2 separate regions of the Homo sapiens genome follow, and region 1 is linked to region 2. Evidence: promoter capture Hi-C in 16 types of primary human blood cells and fetal thymus (Javierre and others, 2016). All regions are on one chromosome and are shown on one strand. Each heading gives the region's core, a stretch centred on a gene start or on the middle of the fragment in contact. The rest is flanking DNA. Distances are from core to core; before and after follow the strand shown. Region 1 overlaps ZPR1 (ZPR1 zinc finger). Region 2 holds the start of APOA1 (apolipoprotein A1).

Region 1 (2,835 bases), core at 163-2,662, 55 kb after region 2:
ATCACAGATGCCTCAGATATGACCAGAGACCTCCTCAAGGTAACAGTCTGCTTGGGAAAGTCACTGTTGTCCTCATAAGTTAGATAAACTGTCTCTATCTAGGGGAAGTTGTCTTTTAGAAATAATGTTCAGGGACATGAGGTATCTCCTACTTCCCTGGCTTTGAGGACCCCTGAGCAGAGGGAGTTAATCTAAGATTGGAATTGCAGGTTTAGAAGGTGACCCTGTTAGCTCTTTCTGATGACCTGGTAGCTTTTTGGCCTCCAGTGTCTATCTGGGTCCTCTTCTCTGTCTGTCCCCTAGTGACAGGATACCTGACAGCTCGAAGCTATGACTGAGTTTCCCTTTATTAAGTTGGATCTATTCCCGTGGTTCAGATGGACAGGAGTGAGTCTCAAGCTTTAACAAGGGAGTCAGAGAAAACTGAGACAGCTGCCCTTGTCCGCAGTCTATCACTGCTGGTATTAATTGGGCAGGAGGCCTCTGGTTGGCTTTCTTTGCTTCTGACTTAAAGCTTAAACTGACCTCTCATTTCACAGTCTGAGACTTGCAGTGTGGAAATCCCAGAGCTAGAATTTGAACTGGGAATGGCAGTCCTCGGGGGCAAGTTCACCACACTGGAAGGGCTGCTGAAAGACATCCGGGAACTGGTGAGTCACTTGAGTAGTGTGTAAACCACCTTTGAGCAATTTGGCTGTGTGAAGAGGGACTGGAAGACTTCAGACATCCTAATTTTCGGTGCTGGTAACTGTGGGTTTCTTTGCCTTAAAGCTGGTTTAAGAGACTTAAATATTACTTTGGATGGTGAAGACAAGTTTATGGGAAATGTTGAATGGAAATTCCAGGCCTAACTTTGGGACTTTATAGTTATTTTGTGGTCTTGGACAAGTCATTTATTTTACTGTAAAGTTAGGGGATGAGGGTCCTTCTAGCACCTAAAACTTCCCAACATAAAAAACATACATGTATGGGTTGACTTAGCCCAAATGTTTATCTCCTTGATGAATTATTTCACTTGATTCTCTGTTGGGCATTTTGTATTTGTAAATTGTACTTTTTCTTTGCATTTCTTCTCCAAATTAGTATCAGAGATCATATTCTAAGAACATGTTTCGATTTTGTTTTACATTGCCAGTTTTGTTATCTTGGCACATTATCCCATAGACTCCTAGGAGTGACTGCCTTGGTCAGAAAGGTGGTGTGGGCTAAATGGAAACCAAGTTTCCCTGACAGGGCACCCACTGTCACCCCCTGCCTAGTTTATGGTCAGGCCTAACAAATATAAAGCCAGTATTCACATAGTTTGGATTATCATTTATTGCAGGTGACCAAAAATCCTTTCACACTGGGCGACAGTTCCAATCCTGGACAGACGGAGAGACTACAGGAGTTTAGCCAGAAGATGGACCAGGTAAGAGGTCACTGGCCAGTCAGTACTTAGAATCCTGGGGCTCCAGTGAACAGGAGGCTGCATGCTCATGTCTTGCCACTTTTTGAACATCTAACCATCATGTTGGGGATTCTTCTTCTGGTTTTCTTTTCTTTTTTTTTTTTTTGGAGACAGAGTCTCGTTCTGTTGCCCAGGCTGGAGTGCAGTGGCGTGATCTCGGCTCACTGCAACCTCTGCCTCCCGGGTTCATGCGATTCTGCTGCCTCAGCCTCCCGAGTAGCTGGGATTACAGGCGCACACCACCACGCCTGGCTAATTTTTTGTATTTTTAGTAGAGACAGGGTTTCACTATGTTGGCCAGACTGGTCTCGAACTCCTGACCTCGTGATCTGCCTGCCTGGGCTTCCCAAAGTGCTGGGATTACAGGCGTGAGCCACCGCACCTGGCCCTCTTCTGGTTTTCTATATTCCACGTCTTCTTTCTTGTTTTTCTCCCTTATTTTGTTAGAGCATCTTCTCCAGTAGCTTCCTGGGAAAAAGTGCATGGGAAATAAAATTTCTGGGACCTTCCACATCTGAACATGTCTTTATTCTGTTATCACACTAGAGTGATTATTGGCTGGGAATACGATTCTAGGATAGAAATAATTTTTTATCAGAATTTCGAAGACTGCACTATGGTCTTCCAGTTTGGTAAAGACATTGTACTATAGTCTTCCACTTTGGCTATTGAGAAGTCTGAAGCCATTTGATTCCTGGTCTTTTATATGTGACCTAGTCTTGTGATCTCTTCGTTTCCTTTGATGTGAAATTTCAGGGTGTGCCTTGGTGTGGGTCAGTTTTCATCCACTGGGCTAAGCACTTGGTAGATGTATTTTTTCAGTCTGGAAAACTCATGTGGTTCAGTTCTAGGAAGCTTTCATGAATTATTCTATTGAAGATTATCTTTTTTCTGATTTTTTTTTTCTGTTCTTTCTGAAAACTCCTGGGTTTTAGATATTAGACTTACTTGTCTGGTCTTCTATAATTTACTCTTTTTTTGGTCCTATTTTTGGTTTCTTGGTTTTTTTGTTCTTCTTTGGGAGATTCCCTCAACTTTATTTTCCAACCCTTCAATTGAGGTTTTCATTTCCACTAAAACTTTTATTTTCCAAGGAGCTTTTTAAAAAATAGCATCCTGTCTTAAGGATGTAGTATTTTTTCTTCTTGAGGATTATTATTTTTTAAATTTTTTCAGCATGCAGTTTATATAGCACTTATTGATACTGATGTTGGATCTTTTTTGACATTTTATTCTCCTTGCATCCTTTTTTTCCCCATTTGATTTCCCATCTTTCAGTGTTAAGGGCTTTGCTCAGATGTCTGATAATCATTGATTGTCTTCTTACAAGTAGCGGGCTAAAGACCTGAGTAGGGGGTGAGCCTTGTTGACATGGGGCTTATTAC
Region 2 (2,700 bases), core at 201-2,700:
ATTTGAGGTTTTCTGGCTCCAGAATCTTCTCTGAAGTGAAAGGCATGAGGCCGACCACTCCCTGATCTGGTAAACAGAGATGTCAGCCTGGTTTCTAGTGTTAGGGAGTTTCCTGGAGTGATGGTACAGGGTACATTTCTGCCCTGCATCCCAAGTCCAGAGACTGGGTTCTAGGTCCAGCCTTTCTTCTAACTCCCTGAGAGATGACAGCCTCTGGGCAAAGTCCCTCTGTGCTCTTCAGTCTCTTCATCTGTGAGATGGTGGCATGGGGAGAGGCTGGAGTGATGTCACAGTTCCTCTCAGCCTGCATCACAGGCTCTAGGACTCAGGTCCTATCAGTAACCTGCTGGGGGAGGTCTGGGCCTTCCAGGAGAAACCTGACAAGATGGTGCTGCAAACACCAACGGACACACAGCACTTTACATTCACAGGCTGTCTCAGGGGCCTCCAACAACCCTGACCATTCTTGCCCCATTTTGCAGATAGAAAACCGAGGCTCAGAGAGATTATATAACTTGCCCACGATCTTCCTCCAGCAAGATGGAGGCCAAGTGAAATGAGAAAGCAGGTCTCCTGCCACTTCCTTTGCCCAGAGGTCTTCTCCCCACACCAGGGCTTCCCAAGGGCTGAGATCCAGTCACACCTGTGCGTGATCAAATATAAGTGTGAACAATGCAAAGGGAGACGTCTTCAATCTAAGGGGCTTCAATTCTGTAATGTAATTCTGAGATTATGCCCTTTTTTGTTAAAGCCTTTCCTTTTTGAAGTGATGGTCACTGTAGATGGTGAGGGTTTTTTGGAGGCGGACAATATCTTTACATGACAAAATTAAAAGTTGGCAGCTCCGAATTGATCTCTGGAGTGTTTTGAAATGCAAGAGGTCTCCGAAACCTCAGTCTGGGAGCCACGGAGGGCTCTCCCCTCTCCCCAGGTTTACCAGTTTGGGAGGCTTGGAGAGAGGCCTGGAGGACCTGCTGGGGACTAAAGAAGAGCACTGGTGGGAGGACAGGGCGGGGGAAGGGGGAGGGGAGTGAAGTAGTCTCCCTGGAATGCTGGTGGTGGGGGAGGCAGTCTCCTTGGTGGAGGAGTCCCAGCGTCCCTCCCCTCCCCTCCTCTGCCAACACAATGGACAATGGCAACTGCCCACACACTCCCATGGAGGGGAAGGGGATGAGTGCAGGGAACCCCGACCCCACCCGGGAGACCTGCAAGCCTGCAGACACTCCCCTCCCGCCCCCACTGAACCCTTGACCCCTGCCCTGCAGCCCCCGCAGCTTGCTGTTTGCCCACTCTATTTGCCCAGCCCCAGGGACAGAGCTGATCCTTGAACTCTTAAGTTCCACATTGCCAGGACCAGTGAGCAGCAACAGGGCCGGGGCTGGGCTTATCAGCCTCCCAGCCCAGACCCTGGCTGCAGACATAAATAGGCCCTGCAAGAGCTGGCTGCTTAGAGACTGCGAGAAGGAGGTGCGTCCTGCTGCCTGCCCCGGTCACTCTGGCTCCCCAGCTCAAGGTTCAGGCCTTGCCCCAGGCCGGGCCTCTGGGTACCTGAGGTCTTCTCCCGCTCTGTGCCCTTCTCCTCACCTGGCTGCAATGAGTGGGGGAGCACGGGGCTTCTGCATGCTGAAGGCACCCCACTCAGCCAGGCCCTTCTTCTCCTCCAGGTCCCCCACGGCCCTTCAGGATGAAAGCTGCGGTGCTGACCTTGGCCGTGCTCTTCCTGACGGGTAGGTGTCCCCTAACCTAGGGAGCCAACCATCGGGGGGCTTTCTCCCTAAATCCCCGTGGCCCACCCTCCTGGGCAGAGGCAGCAGGTTTCTCACTGGCCCCCTCTCCCCCACCTCCAAGCTTGGCCTTTCGGCTCAGATCTCAGCCCACAGCTGGCCTGATCTGGGTCTCCCCTCCCACCCTCAGGGAGCCAGGCTCGGCATTTCTGGCAGCAAGATGAACCCCCCCAGAGCCCCTGGGATCGAGTGAAGGACCTGGCCACTGTGTACGTGGATGTGCTCAAAGACAGCGGCAGAGACTATGTGTCCCAGTTTGAAGGCTCCGCCTTGGGAAAACAGCTAAAGTAAGGACCCAGCCTGGGGTTGAGGGCAGGGGTAGGGGGCAGAGGCCTGTGGGATGATGTTGAAGCCAGACTGGCCGAGTCCTCACCTAATATCTGATGAGCTGGGCCCCACAGATGGTCTGGATGGAGAAACTGGAATGGGATCTCCAGGCAGGGTCACAGCCCATGTCCCCTGCAAAGGACAGACCAGGGCTGCCCGATGCGTGATCACAGAGCCACATTGTGCCTGCAAGTGTAGCAAGCCCCTTTCCCTTCTTCACCACCTCCTCTGCTCCTGCCCAGCAAGACTGTGGGCTGTCTTCGGAGAGGAGAATGCGCTGGAGGCATAGAAGCGAGGTCCTTCAAGGGCCCACTTTGGAGACCAACGTAACTGGGCACTAGTCCCAGCTCTGTCTCCTTTTTAGCTCCTCTCTGTGCCTCGGTCCAGCTGCACAACGGGGCATGGCCTGGCGGGGCAGGGGTGTTGGTTGAGAGTGTACTGGAAATGCTAGGCCACTGCACCTCCGCGGACAGGTGTCACCCAGGGCTCACCCCTGATAGGCTGGGGCGCTGGGAGGCCAGCCCTCAACCCTTCTGTCTCACCCTCCAGCCTAAAGCTCCTTGACAACTGGGACAGCGTGACCTCCACC

What was found. The method cuts DNA at HindIII sites, captures the fragments that hold promoters and counts their contacts. A CHiCAGO score of 5 or more calls a contact.
Region 1: a contact is called between a fragment that was not itself captured here and the fragment with the promoter of APOA1 in region 2, in 1 of 17 cell types (total CD8 T cells). The highest score is 6.0, in total CD8 T cells.

Annotation. Positions count from the first base shown.
Region 1 is chr11:116,780,734-116,783,568 of GRCh38, reverse strand. It overlaps ZPR1 (ZPR1 zinc finger), which reads left to right. Exons shown (of 14, transcript NM_003904.5): 10 at 1-39; 11 at 540-650; 12 at 1,325-1,411. Among named protein-coding and RNA genes, the nearest start is that of ZPR1, 5.9 kb to the left of the region's middle. The HindIII fragment of the contact is 1,791 bases long and covers 517-2,307 here.
Region 2 is chr11:116,836,372-116,839,071 of GRCh38, reverse strand. APOA1 (apolipoprotein A1) reads left to right here and starts at 1,450. Exons shown (of 4, transcript NM_000039.3): 1 at 1,450-1,467; 2 at 1,665-1,727; 3 at 1,915-2,071; 4 at 2,661-2,700. The coding sequence starts at 1,685. It also overlaps APOA1-AS. The HindIII fragment of the contact is 2,883 bases long and covers 1-1,850 here.